Linked DNA regions of Homo sapiens: region 2 is linked to region 1. The links are contacts of gene promoters, found by promoter capture Hi-C in human tissues and cell types (Jung and others, 2019). All regions are on one chromosome and are shown on one strand. The core of a region is centred on a gene start or on the middle of the fragment in contact, and the rest is flanking DNA. Distances in the headings are between cores, read along the strand shown.

Region 1 (6,696 bases), core at 2,621-5,120:
TGCATCCATGGATGGTTCTGGATTTCTTCGAAGGTTGGCCTATCTGATGGTCTCAGGGCCAAGCACCATCTAATGAGATGCTGACATTCTGCAGAAAGGAGGATAGACGAGGTTATGAATGACTCAACTTGTTTTTACACTGCAAAGGTCTTCCCCATTTGCTTCTCAGAGGCCCACAAGTCTGGGGTCCCAGGGAGGCCAAGCATTTTCTAGAACACTGTGCTGGGTACCCTTCAATAGGAAGGTATTGACTAATATCTGGGTCCTCCAGTCTGCTTTCAGCTAAAAACTGACTCCCCTCTTAAACCTGTGGTTTTCAAACTTCAATAGTGGGGGCCTTTCCCACAACACCCACTCACCAGAAATAGGAAGGATGATGACAAGAGATTTTGATGAGACACCACTGAGCATGATGAAATGATTCAATTCACCTACCAACTTACAAACACGAACACCACCCACAGTGAGGTCACTGGTACCAAAATATTTGGAGCTGCTGCCTTAAAGAAGATGCTAAAAGAGCTTTTAACTTTTTACTCCCTGGCAAAACAGCCAGGAATTATCAGGTTTCTGTTGGTACCTTTAAAAAAGTTTTTGGAGAAGCCAGATTGTCTTTTCTTCTTAATATGCTCACACATGCCTTCCTCTGACCTCCCAAGGAAAGCTCAAGTGCAAACCATGTGATTTATGAGGCCAGCTCAAGTGTAAATCACTCACCTACAATTCTAAGCCAAGGGTGACAGAATCTACTGGAGAGTGAAGCTCTCCAGAATTTCAAAGACTGTCCCATGAAGACTAATAGCCCCATTAAGACCAATAACCCCATGGCCAGGGGTTTCCATCAGTTACCTGAAGAGACCCTCTGCCTGAAGAAAACCTGGCCCCTGATGATCTCTTCGTCATGCTCGAAAGGAATATCTCCACACACCATATCATACAGCAGGATCCCCAGGGACCAGACTGCCGCCGACCTGCCATGGTAGCGATGGTAGCGGATCCACTCTGGAGGGCTATACACTCGGGTCCCTGTGAGCCAAGGGAATAGAAGAGAAAACACACTTTTAGCAAAAACAAGCACAAAGAAGCTGGGTGGTATATATAACTCTTTCTTTTAAAAAAAAAAAAAATCCCTTCTCTCAGGAGCTAGGTGAACTCCATTTTTCCCTCTGGGCTAAGGAGAGTGGAGGCGCACCTTACGGCATCTCTCCAACCCAAAGCATTACCCACCTCTCTGCTAGCCCAAACCATAAACTGAAATTCTTTATGAACTGCTCCAAGAAACAAACACAGCTGGCCGCAGACCCAAAACTTGAGGCCCTGTGAGGCAGGACCGCCTGCGAAGGATGAAGGGATGCATGTCTGCACAACCAAGAAAGGTATCTCATAGACTATCCTTAAATTGCATTCACCACTGCCCAGGAGCCCGGGTGAGATTCTCATGGCCGACAGGATCCAAGCAAGGATGCTTGCACAACATCCTAAGTCAGGGTGCCCTTTGGGAGGCCTTCCTCCCCACCCGATGCAAGCAGGAGCAGACACCCACACCCTTTCCTCCCTAGACTGGAAAGGTAGACAGAGCTGCAGGGTTGGTTTCAGACCACGTGATTCCTGTTTACAAACTTTGGGTAGTAAAAGAAAAAGGAGGGGCCATGCCGCTGGTGCTCACCAGGGGGCAGCAAAGACTTGAAAGAAAAAACATGGGAGGACCCGGCCAGCCATTAACTGTTAAATACAAAAAATGCAGCCCAACCCAGCGTCCTCCAAGGGCAAATAAACATAAACCACAAGCCCGAGTCACAAGTTTTGAAAGGCTGTCGTTTGTTAGGTTAAGCCGCTCAGATGATGACCCACCCTCCGCAGCTTTGATCTCAGGCTCTCCATTCCTTCTTTTCTGAAAGAACCCGCTCCAAGCCCCTCCCTAGGATAGGTTTTCATCCTCTCTGCGGAGACACCCAACTAATTTTCAAACCAGCGACAGATCTTATTTCACAACATTCATTCCTGACTCTCTCTCCCCTTAACACTAAAGAAAAAAAAAAGCCACCAGTAATAATATAGTTCCTATTCCTTAACCTTCCCTAGATCAGAAAGGAGTTAAGAACTGCAGCTCTAAAACTACCATACAGAAAACTAACTCCCTTATAAAATAAAACAAAAATTACAAAACCGGCATCAATTTCCACCTCTTCCCCCGCCCCCATCCTTTTACTGGCGGGGAAACTGGGTCAGACTTTAGAAAAATCTGGGCTACCGCCGGTTGCCCACAACCTCTTATTCATCGGGAAAGCCTGGAACTAACTGAATTCCACTTGAAGAATAAAATCATGCCAGAAACATTACAGGTTCAGCTGGCTGAAAATCCCCGGCTTTACTACGCTGGGAGGCTCTCCTGCGTCCCACCCCGGCTAGCATCGAGCCAGGCGGCCCAATGACCTTTACAAAAGGCTGGCGCGGGAGACTGGCCGAGGCCTCCGGACTGGGCCGGGCCGGGCCGAGTCACCTGGGCAGCTCCCTCCCGGGCCTGGCTCACCATCGAAGTCCGTGTAGACGGTGTCCTTGAGCAGCGCCCCCGACCCGAAGTCGATGAGCTTGAGCTCGCCGCGATTGAGGTCGATAAGGATGTTTTCGTCCTTGATGTCGCGGTGGAGCACCCCGCAGTTGTGGCAGTGCCGCACGGCCTCCAGCACCTGCCAGAAGAAGCTGCGGGCCAGCTCCTCTTGCAGGGCTCCCCTTTCCGTGATGAAGTCGAAGAGATCTTGCACCGGCTCGGGCCTCTCCAGGATCAGGACGAAACTGTCGGGCCTCTCGAACCAGTCCAGGAGCCTAATGACGCCGGAGAAACCCGAGCTCACCTTCTTCAGCAGGACCACTTCCATGGGCACTCGAGTGCCATTAGGCTGCAGGGGCGAGGGGGCCGCGTTAGGGCGGGAGTCGGGGGCGCCCCTCACCCCACCCACTCATCCTGGGGGTCGCTCCTGCAGGGCACTCACCAGCTCTCCCCAGTCGGAAATCCGGTCCTTCTCCACGTGTTTGATGGCCACCTGGAAGCCCAGGGTCTCCGTCAGGTTCCCTCGTCCGGGCTAAAGCACGCCCGTGCGCCCCCCGCCCGGCGCGCCCTCCCCACCGCGGGGCGCCCACTCACCGGCAAGTTGTCGGAGACGCGGATGCCTGAGTAGACCGAGCCGAAGCCGCCGCTGCCCAGTAGCGGGCCCACCTGGTACTGCGACTCCAGGGGCTCCTTCTCCTTGCCTAGGAAAGGGGGAAGCACGGGGACTCAGTGCCGGCCCGCGAGCCGCCAGCTCCCCACCCAGGAGATCCCGCCGCCGCCCCGCATCCCCGGGCCGGAGGCGGGGGGTGCTCTCACCGGGCGCCAGCTTGGTGGCGTGCAGGTCGTTGCAGGGCGCGGCGCGCAGGTGGGCAAGCGAGTTGATTTTGGACAAGAGCATCCCAACCTCCAGGATGTCGGCGCAGGGACGGTGCCCAGAGGAGCTGCCGCAGGAGCCGGAGCCGGGGCTGTGCCGAAGGCTATGCCTGGGGCTGTGGCTGTGGCTGTGGCTGCGGGTGGCGTTGCGGCTGTGGCTGCGGCTGGCGCGGAAGGCCGAGGGCGAGTCGGAGGACAACTGAGGGCGCTGCCGGGACTGGCGGCGGGAGGGCGCGCCAGCGGGGTCGGGCAGCGCTGAGAACGGCGGGGTGAGCGGCTCGTGGGGCTCGTGCGGCAGCGCCGCGGGGCAGGAGGCTAGTGGTTGCTGCTGCTGCTGCTGCTGCTGCTGCTGCCGGTCCCGCCGCCGCCGCTGCCACCGACTCCTCTCGGGCCTCCTCAGCCACCGCGGCCGCTGCAGCAGACGCCCGGCTCGCCCCGCAGCCAGGAGTAAAGGGGAGGAGCGCGCCGGCGGGGAGGGCGCGCGGGGAGGGCGCGGCGGGCGGGGACGGGGCGGGGCCTCTCCGGGAGGCCAAGGCGGGGAGCAGGGCTGCCGGGCCGGCCGAGGGAGGAGAGGGGGTGGGGAAGCGGCGGGACTGGGCGACTCCCCTCGGCCCCCGCCCCGCGCGCTCTGTGGCCGCGCCCCGGCCCCGCCCCTGCCAGCGCTACTCCAGCCAACCAGAGGCCGATTGATCTGCATAACTCGGCGCGCCCCGCCCCCGCCCCGCCCAGCTCTCGCGGTCAGAATGGTCTCTACGCCGCCACGACGTGGCGGGAAGGAAAAGGCGCCAAAATGGAGGGGGAGGGGCGCGGGGCGTGAGGGGAGGCGGGAGCTGGGTGTAGGGCCGCGAGGGAGGAAGGATGGGGAGGGGCGTATCGATTCAAACCCAAACAATAACAAAGCCATCAAAGGCCGCCCGAGGCCGGCTCTGCGGCTCTCCGTTTCGCTGAGGGTTTTGGGTCAAGGGCTCGAGCCGGAGCATAACAAGTTGCGCGGAGACGACGGGCGTTAGTGTGTCAGGCGGGGAGGCCGGCGCGCCGGGTGTCGGACTGTGTGTGGGGATGCCGACGAGGGTGGTCTTTCTGTGTGACTCAGACCCGAGACCTCCAAGTCGGCTGGGGCGGGCTGACGTCGCGCTGTAGGCTGGGGGCGGATTCTGGGGGTTTGTGTGTTGGGGGGCGCGTCGGGGGCGAAGGATCCGCAGGACATGAGTCACGGAGGGAGTGGAGGAGTCAGGCCTGGAACAGAACTGGAGGCGGGAGCCCCGCTCCTGCGGGAAAGGGATGCAGCCCTCAGTCGTTCCGGCCGGCTAAAAGCTCAGCCACGGGATTCCCATTTTAGAAATGCAAAAGCACCAGCGAATCCTGATTTCTGGGAAGGGATGTGTGTCAAAGGGCCGGGTAAAGAGGAAATCACGAAGCAAATGTTAGTGTTGTGATGCCAGATGCTGCCTCAGCCCCTTCTGTGAGGGCGGAAAATTCCTCATCTAAAACGAGGGTGGGAGGGTGCGCTTGATTTAACCAGTTTTCACGTTGTAGTCACCTTTTCATCAGCCTGTTATTACCAGGCAGGCAATACCAGCAATTATTGGCCAACCCCAAGTCTTGTCTCAAAGGAAACCCCCCACCCTCTGCCTCCCTTGGAAATAACCCGGAACACTGACCAATTCCACTTGCATCCTTTGTCCTTTTAAACTTCATGTAGAGTTGATAACGACGTGTGAAATGAGTAAATTAAAATACTATATAATCCATAAATTGAATTGTCAGTGGCCTAAGTAATTGAAAGCTAACTACATTCTATTTTAATTTTTTGAAGTGCCTGCCATTTAAAGGAAAAATCAGGATCCCTATAGCTGTCATTAGTGAATTTAAATGTTTCCTTTGAAAGTTTTCTACAGTGCTTGCTTTATAAAAGTGCCCAGATCCTCCACAACTTTTATGAATTTATCCTACAAAATATTACATATTTTCCTTTTGTTTGTGTACTGTGGCCGAACTCATTCATTTTTTATGACTAGGAGAAAACCCAAGGGAACAAGAATTACTCCCTTTTTGCAGATAGGAAAATGAAACATAAATAGGATGGCACAGGGTCATACAGCAGCTAAGAGAGGAGATGAAATGACCCAAATTCACCTCCTGAGTATTCAAAGCTTTCCGCTTATCAGGGTCTAAAACTGTCCTTGGCACCGAACAAGACATCATTAAACATATGTGATTCCCACTTCCATCCCTTCTACCCTCCCTTTCCTTTCTCAAACCCTCAAATGTAGTCAAACAGAACTATTCCCACTTGTTCCCACTCGCCTAGCACTTTACAGACCCTTTGCCTTTGCGGAAGCAATCAACCTGTCCTGGGAGAGCCCTCTCTACCTCTCCACTTTTATTCAAAGCCTTTCCACTCTTTAGGAAACAATTGTAGTTCTACCACAGATTGATGAACAAACTCAGAGCATTGGTTCACTGTCCACTAATCTGACAGTTGGGATTTGTTTTTTTAAATCCTTTTTGTTCATTTACTTTTCCATTATACTTTGTCTTCCTATTCCTTGAATGCCCTTTTTTTTTTTTTTTTTGAGACGGAATCTCGCCCTGTTACCCAGGCTAGAGTGCAATGGCACTATCTCGGCTCACTGCAACCTCCATCTCCCGGGTTCAAACAATTGGTTCTCCTGCCTCAGCCTCCCAAGTAGCTGGGATTACAAGCGCCCGCCACCATGCCCAGCTAATTTTTGTATTTTTAGTAGAGACGGAGTTTCACCATGTTGGCCAGGCTGGTCTCGAACTCCTGACCTTATGATCCGCCTGCCTCGGCCTCCCAAAGTGCTGGGATTACAGGTGTGAACCACCATGCCCAGCCTCCTTGGATTACAGGTGTGAGCCACCATGCCCAGCCTCCCTGAATGCATACTTTATCCAACATTTGTTGATAAAAGAGAAGACTATAATGGATTCTAACAAAAAGGCCATAATTAAAGTCAATTTATACCAAATTTAAATGAATTAAGTGGGCTTCGGGAACATAAAAGTTGGGAGCAAGGGCTTTAAACTAAGTTAGCCTGGTTTCAATTCCGGGATCTGGCAGCTACTAGTTAGGCATTGGTCAAGTTACTTAACCTTATTAAGCTTTAGACAGAATGGAGATAATAACAGCATCTACCTCATAGGGTTGTTGTAAGGAGCAAATAAAACTCTTGTTTGTAAAGCATATAACCCAGTACAGAGTAAACTTCTAATAAATATTAGCAATGATGATGGCAATAATGTTGATCGTG
Region 2 (7,260 bases), core at 381-2,880, 360 kb after region 1:
TGGCAGCCAGGCTCATTGGTAAAGGGTCGTTCCCCGTTCCCCGAGGAGCTGGGATGATTGAACAGATTATCTGAAACAATGGCTAATTAGGAACTAAGCTTTTTGGCAGGAAGTCTTTCATTCTAAGCTTGGTAAAGTTTCATACCCTGACCCTGGTCTCTGGGCGAGATAGGGAGGCTTCTCTGACCAGGCTTGAGAACAGGGAGGCCTTTAGAGCCTGGGCTTCCCTAACTCAGGGCCCCTGTCTCCACCTCTGCCCTGCCTTACCTGGAAGCCTTAACAAAACAGGCAGCCATTTGGGAGGTCACCAGGCCTACGAAACGAAAGGTGCCAAGGTCATGGCTCACTCCCTGTAATTTTAGGCAAGCCCCATCTCTCTCTGGGCCTGGTTTTCCTCACTGCAACGAGGAGGGGTGGCCACAGAATTCTGGACTCCTTCAGTGACAGAACCAGAGAGAACTTTCCAGACCCAAGATGGTGCAGGCCTGGCATGGCCAGATCCTCCGTGCTCCTCCGCCTCCCCAGGCCCTCCTTTCCTGTCCCCAGATCTCAGGCCACTCTTCCCAGCCACTGGGCGCCCCCACCTGGCTCCTATTCCCAGGGCCAGCCTTGGAAAGCACATTCCCTTTTTCCGTTTCTATTTGAGTCAGGTAGCTTTCTGGCCTCTAATTTTAATCCTAGTGAACATGATTCATGAGGGGCCAGGGCTGGGCTCTGCAGCGAGGCTTTTAGAATCCCCAATTAAGGAGCCATCAATAATATATGAAAAGTATTGAGGGATCTACGGCTGGGGAAGGGTGAGCAGCTTGTGAGGTAGACAGCAGTCTGTCAGCTCCAGCCTCCTATCCCACCGGCACAGCCCCTGGGGGCTTTGCAGCTGGGGGATGGCTCCGAAGCTCAATCCAGCTGTAATTTGTAAAAAGGCAAGAGCTGCCTAAATCCAGGGCCATGAAGATTGTTCAGGCTTGCAGAGAGCCACCCACGCATGCCTGAGGTAGGGGCTGTGGTGAGCACCAGGGATGCTCTGCCTTTCTCACTCCTGAGAGTCCCGGCCCTTCCTCGCCCACCATGGGTTGCCTCTGGGAGGGCTTCTCTGGCCTCCAAGAGCTCCGTTCTTTCATCGGTAAAGTGGAGATGATAATAATTTCATTGTCACGGGGTCATTGGAGGGGGTTAAATGAGATCGTGGATGTATGGAAGTGTTTCAAAGTTGAGAAGTCAGGATACCAAGCAGAAGGAGGAGGAGGAGGATCGGGTGGAAGGGAGAAACCTGAGCAGGGATGTCCACAGGCTTCTGGGTGAACCAGGGCTCCACTCAGCGCTGGGAGCCCCACTGGCTGGGGTACCCGTCAGCATCCATTTCCTAATGAGCTGTGTGACCGTGGTCAGAACAGCCCCCCTCCCACCTTCTCTGCCTTTGTTTTCTCATGTGTTAATTGAGAGGATTTGGTTTCTTCCAGCTCTAAAATCAGGTCCTAAGTCAATTTGATTTTTTTTTTGGTTGTTGTTTTGGCTTTTTGTTGTTGTTGTTTGTTTTTTTGTTTTTGAGACAGCGTCGTGCTCTGTCGCCCAGGCTGGAGTGCAGTGGCACAATCACGGCTCACTGCAGCCTCAATCTCCTGGGCTCAATTGACCCTTCTGCCTCAGCCTCCCAAGTAGCTGGGACTACAGACGTGTGCTTCCATGCCTGGCTAATTTTCTTATTTTTTGTGGAGATGGGATCTCACTATGTTGCCCAGGTTGGTCTCGAACTCCTAGGTTCAAGCGATCCTCCTGCCTCCCAAAGTGCTGCCCAACTTGTTAACATTTTTAAAAGGAAATCACAGGAGGGTTGAGGACTCTTTCTCTCCTCCTCCTCTCTCTCTCTCAATCTCTCTCTCTCTCTGTCTCTCCCTTCCTCTCTCTCTCTCCTCTCTCTCTCTCTGCGTAGGGGCTGCAAGGGGAGGGATAGAGGTTGGGCAGGGTGTTAGGTCAGGGACACTCACATTATGACCTGATCTGTGGGTCCACCCAGACCCACAGGGAGTGTTAACAAGGGAGCAGGCACAGTAATCCCAGAAGTTCAGAGACTGCGCTAGGGAGTAGAGAAACTACAGGGCTGAAAACTGTCAGACCTAGTCCCAGCCTCCATTCACAGCATAAGCCTCTTACTGAATAGTGACTATATCAACTCCTTATTGATTTGGAGCCAGCCAGCCTGGGTTTGAATCCCGTTCCTATCGCCTGCTAGCTGTGTGACCTTGGGCAAGTCTCTCAATCTCTCTGAGCCTTATCTTAATTTACTTATCTGTAAAGTGGGGATAATAGTTCTGCTTCGGAAGGTTGTTATGAAGCTTAAATGAATGACCTTATGGATAACACTTAGTGCGTGGCACGCAGTAGGGCTCTGTGAGGGTTACTATCAGTATTGGAGACCAGCTCTGCAACAGACACTCCCTGCATGTCCCTTCTGTCCTCCATCTGGAGGAAGGAATGATTTACTCTGTTTAAGCAACAGGGAGGTACACCCTCTCAGGGGGTGTCTCAGGCAGATCGTAAGCAACACAAGGCAGGCCTGGGAGGGTCCTGGGCCCTCCCTGGCCCTGGGCCCCAATGTTCTGCAGCCATGGGCATTTGTGGGGAGTTGACTCACGTGCCGGGAGATGTCCTTGTGCTGTCTGTTGCTGCCTCCCAGCTGGTGGGTGATGAGGAGGAAGAAGGGGCCCAGATTTTAGAAATCTGGAAGCAGGTTGAGCACAGTGGCTCATGCCTGTAATCCCAGCACTTTGTGAGGCCGACGGTTGGGGGTGGATTACCTGAGGTCAGGAGTTCGAGACCAGCCTGGTCAACATGGCCAAACCCCGCCTCTACTAAAAATACAAAACTTAGCCAGGCGTGGTGGCAGGCACGTGTAATCCCAGCTACTGGGGAGGCTGAGGCGGGAGAATCACTTGAACACAGGAGGCAGAGGTTGCAGTGAGCCAAGATCGCGCCACTGCACTCCAGCCTGGGCAACAAGAGCAAAACTCCTCTCAAAAAAAAAAGAAAAAAGAAAAGAAATCTGGAAGCAACAGAGAGGGCACCTCTTCCTGGGCTGCCTTTCTCTCCACATCCTAGTCCATGATCAGAGGCTGAGCGGGCGACCTCTCTCCTTTACTTTCACTACGTGGCTTCCATGCCCAAGGGCTCCTCCTGCCTTTTGTTTCCTTCCCTGCTGGTGGCCACAGTGAGTTTCTTCTCTAGGCCCCAGGTCTCTAAGAAAACCTTAGGTTTTCTGCGGCCTTTTTTCAACTGAGGCCTGGGGTACTAAGGACCCTGGTGTTGTGGGTAGCCCGTAGGGAGAGTAGGGCCTGGATCCTGATGGAGAAGTCGGTTTGTTCGAGCAAAGGGCCAGCCCTGCATTTGCCTCCAGTCTCACCCCGCATACAGAAGATATCTAGAGAGCAACCACTGAGAGCTAGGGCTTTCGGGAGACCCCTTTAGATGGAGGACGAAAACCCTCTCAGGTGTGGAAGATGAGCAGAAAGGAGTGGGAGCTGAAGAGGAAATGTTAGTGGTAGGACTGGGAGCATCTTAGAGATAAAGCTGAGTTTAAAGGCTTGGGAGATGAACACAGTTCCTGGATGGCTGAACCAGAGTTAGGGATGTAGAAAGAACCAGAGTGTGGGATCACTTACGTACAGAGCACGTTTTATGTCCCAGGCTCTCTTCTAAGTATATTATGTAAATCAAATCATTTAGGCCTCCAACAATCCCATAACATGTAGATAAATTGCCATTCCCATTTTACAGAGGAGGAAACTGAGGCACAGAGAGGTAAAGGCATTTGCCCAAGGTCACATAACCAGGGAGTAGCAGAGCCAAAATTTGAACCCAGAGGCCTGGCCGTAGACTCTGCACTATTAACGACTTCACTTTACTGCTTTATGTGGGAAACCTTGAGACCTGTCTTCAAAGCTAGGGCCAGTGATTCTTAAAGCTTTTTGAAGACGTGCTTCCCTCTGAGAAACTGATATAAACCTTGGCTGTTCTCCCCAGAAAATGCAGGCATGTGTAGACAGACATTTGCATTCAATTTCAGGATGTCACAAACCCACATAAAGCCCAGGTTAGGAGCCTCAAACCCTGACTCTTATTTAGGAATTTTCCATCCCCCAGTCCTCACTCTGGCACCTATGTGGATGGGGCCAGGATGGCCACTTTCTACAATGTGGAGGAGGCTGGTGTTGGGGGGCCATGGCCCCTGAGAGCCCCCAATGAAGCCCTTAAGTGGGACAGCAGTGCTGAGATCCCACGTCCCAAAGGGCTGGCACAGGACATTGGTATCTTTGCTGCATGATCGGGAGTCATGCACTTTCTTGGTGACATGAATGTTATACACTGGAGTCTGAGCAGAATAGGGTGGAGGCAGGGGCTGTCTTGGTTTACGTTCAATTGAGTTGGAAATTGTATGTGTGTAAACATGTTTGTGAGAGATAAATTTTATCAGTGAGGGTCCCAGCAGGAAAGAGAAACTCAGAGGGTTTAACTGGAGAGATTTTAATGAAGAGATTTCTCTCAAAGGTATGGATGAGCTTGGGGAAATCCACAAGGGATAGAGCATCACCTGGGGGCTTGCAACAGCAGGGAGCTGTGACCACCCAGGCTTGCCGTGGCGATGGGAGAAGGCACTGCTGCTCTCTGAGTGGGAGGTGGAGGGCCTGCCTGGTGGGGTCTGTGGTCCTGGAGGGAAGCAGCCTCTCCCAGAACCATGGAGCTGAGGCTGGGCAGGAGTGGGAAGAAATACCCCAACCTCTGTCTCTTCCTGTCTCCCATCTACCAGTGTCTCCCACTGGCCAAACCCCACTGGAAGCCACAGGGTGAGGGAATGATAGTGATGCTATTCAAAGGGAAGCAATCTCCTGTAGGATGAAGACTGGAGCTGGGGCGGGCAGCAGGCAGCAGCCCGAGACTCTCCAGCCTCCGTATCAGCCCAGGCCCAACCGCCAGCCCCAAGAGCCCCCTACAGGCTGGGCACCCGTGTCTTGACAGAGGCTGTCCCCTCCTGGCCCAATAGTTGGATGTGGGGCAGGAAGACCTTGCTTGCCCAACCTGGGTTCTCAACCTCAGCCCTGCTCTGGGCTTCCCTCTGAGGGCAGTTTGGCGACACTGCTGTCTACCTGCCCCATACATCCCAGCTGTCACGTGTAGCAGAGTCCCAGAGAGTCGCCTAATTTAGTCCCCAAAGAAGTTTCAAGTCTGCCCCCACTTTGAGGGTCTCACTGGAACTGATGGTATGTAATTAACACTGCTTAATTGATATTCATGCAGCTTAGTCATAGAGGTTTTAGGAGCCCTTGGGACCATCTTTTGGGGCATGTCAGAAGCTCTTTCCACTGAGTTTTGTTGCCAGGGAGAGAGTCTTTCAGAAGGCAAATTCCCTCATTTCCAGGCTTCCTTCTCATTTGTACTTTTTCTTTCCTTCTGCCCAGTAGGAGACCGTCCCAGCCCTGGGGCCCAGGGAGGTCCCCTGTCACCTCCCCTGTCACTCAGCCTCCTGCCCAGTTTTCATCCCTCAGCCTCCCCAGTGCACACTTGCGCACCTTCCCTAACAATTCTCTAGGGCTCTCTGCATCACATCCTGCATGCAGATTGCTTGGGCATCCTTCAGCCTTTGTTTATCAGAATTCCTGTGCTTACCAGTGTTTGGTGGTCTGTGAGCAACGTGAGGATCCCCCACTCCCAGTATCCTCAGAGCCCAAAGTGTGGACAGAGGAGCTCAGAAAGGCTTGGAAGCAGGGACAGGCATGCCCAGGGAGCTGGCAGAATGAACAGGGCTGGCTGCGCTCTGTATTACGGGTGGTGAGGGGTTAACCCCCCTGCTCCTTCCCTAAGCAGGATTTGCTGCACAGCAGTTAGATTGCATGCCATCCTGTGGTTCCCAGTGCTCGGGTGCTAATATCTCATCTCTCCAAGTCCCTTCTGGCTTGAAAACTCTATAAGTCTATGTAGAATGAAATACAGCAGCCAAATTGATTTTTTTTTCAACGTCTCTTCAGTTGTGTTCCTGCCATCATTAATGGGGTATAAATTGGGCCTGACAGGACCTGGTGGCTTCTCAGATTTTAAAATCCAAGTTTTAGCATTTTTCCCCTTTGTTATTCGTCCAAGTAATGAAGGCTATAAAACATCTTCAGTAAGTCCCCAGATTGTGGATTTTGCGGTTGTTTGTGATCTGCACGTCTTAACTACCTCTGAGTCTTAGTAATCTGTCACTGTCCAGCCTAGCTCATGTGCCCCCTTTCCTGCTCTAGGAGTTATTGGGGGTGGGCTTGGAGTTCCCCTCCGTGTCCTGTTTCCAGGGGAACTCCATTGTCTTCTTAGGCAGAATCAATCTCTAGGGTATTCCCCTCTATTGAAGCTGCAAGTGCCATTTTAAAAGCAGCCTTGTCATCTTCCTTAATGGGTGTTTTCCTTGGAGCCTATGCTGGGGGTGGGGTGGGGTGGGGAGGGAAACTGCATATAGGATGTCTGCTCCTTCTGGGCTGGGCCTTATCTAAAATCCTGCTAGAGGGATGCTGTGAGGTTGTTGAAGGAGGAGGGCAAGTGTAGTGAGAGAAAGGAAGTAAGTCCCTTCCTTAAAGGAGAATTTTCTCAAACCTGGGTGTTTACCTGGAATATTTTGCAAGAAAGCCATTAAGAGACATGTTCCTTTTGTCTGAAGGCAGGAGGTATTCATCAAGAATAAGAGCAGGAGAGGAGAATGCAGGAACTCTTTTGGAACAGGGGTTATGCATTGTAAGATTGTTATTGAATTTAGGGAGTGGGAAAGGAACCCAGTCTTATTCAATCTGATGTCCTTTCCATTGCTTGACACATACTGGGACTTGTACAAATGCTTGTGAAGTAAACCTCATCTTTATTTGATTTTCATAATGCTTGATGACTCCTCACAGTTAGATGCAGTAAAAATATAATGGGCTTTGGAGTTAGATATACCTGGGTTTAGGTCCCAGCTCTGCCTTGCTGTGTGATCTTGGGCAAGTTACTTAACCTCTCTGATTTTTAGTTTCCTCATTTGTACAATGGGTAATACCTCACAGGATTTTTGTGAGAATTGAATGAAATAACTTAATGATGCACTTAAGCTATTGAGCATTCAGTAGGGGCTCAGTAAATGTTAGTTTACTTCCTTCCTCCTGCTGTATTCTCATTCATTAGTGGTTCTCAACTCCACCTGCACATTACGATCACCTAGGGAACTTTAAAAAAGCACAGTTGTTCAGGCCCCACCCACTGAGA

Evidence for each region. The method cuts DNA at HindIII sites, captures the fragments that hold promoters and counts their contacts. A contact is called where the count stands out against the background at its distance.
Region 2: a contact is called between a fragment that was not itself captured here and the fragment with the promoter of PIM1 in region 1, in 1 of the 25 tissues and cell types used here (IMR-90 fibroblasts).

The regions. Positions count from the first base shown.
Region 1 is chr6:37,167,326-37,174,021 of GRCh38, reverse strand. It overlaps PIM1 (Pim-1 proto-oncogene, serine/threonine kinase), which reads right to left and starts at 3,870. Exons shown (of 6, transcript NM_002648.4): 1 at 3,365-3,870; 2 at 3,143-3,249; 3 at 2,991-3,041; 4 at 2,531-2,897; 5 at 850-1,026; 6 at 1-88. The coding sequence starts at 3,446. RefSeq lists silencers at 1,753-1,852, 3,042-3,361, 3,622-4,401 and enhancers at 1,512-2,105, 4,027-4,625. The HindIII fragment of the contact is 6,628 bases long and covers 1-6,061 here.
Region 2 is chr6:36,803,862-36,811,121 of GRCh38, reverse strand. All of the region lies in intron 3 of CPNE5 (copine 5), which reads left to right. Among named protein-coding and RNA genes, the nearest start is that of CPNE5, 32 kb to the left of the region's middle. RefSeq lists a silencer at 1-98 and an enhancer at 4,912-5,413. The HindIII fragment of the contact is 3,033 bases long and covers 114-3,146 here.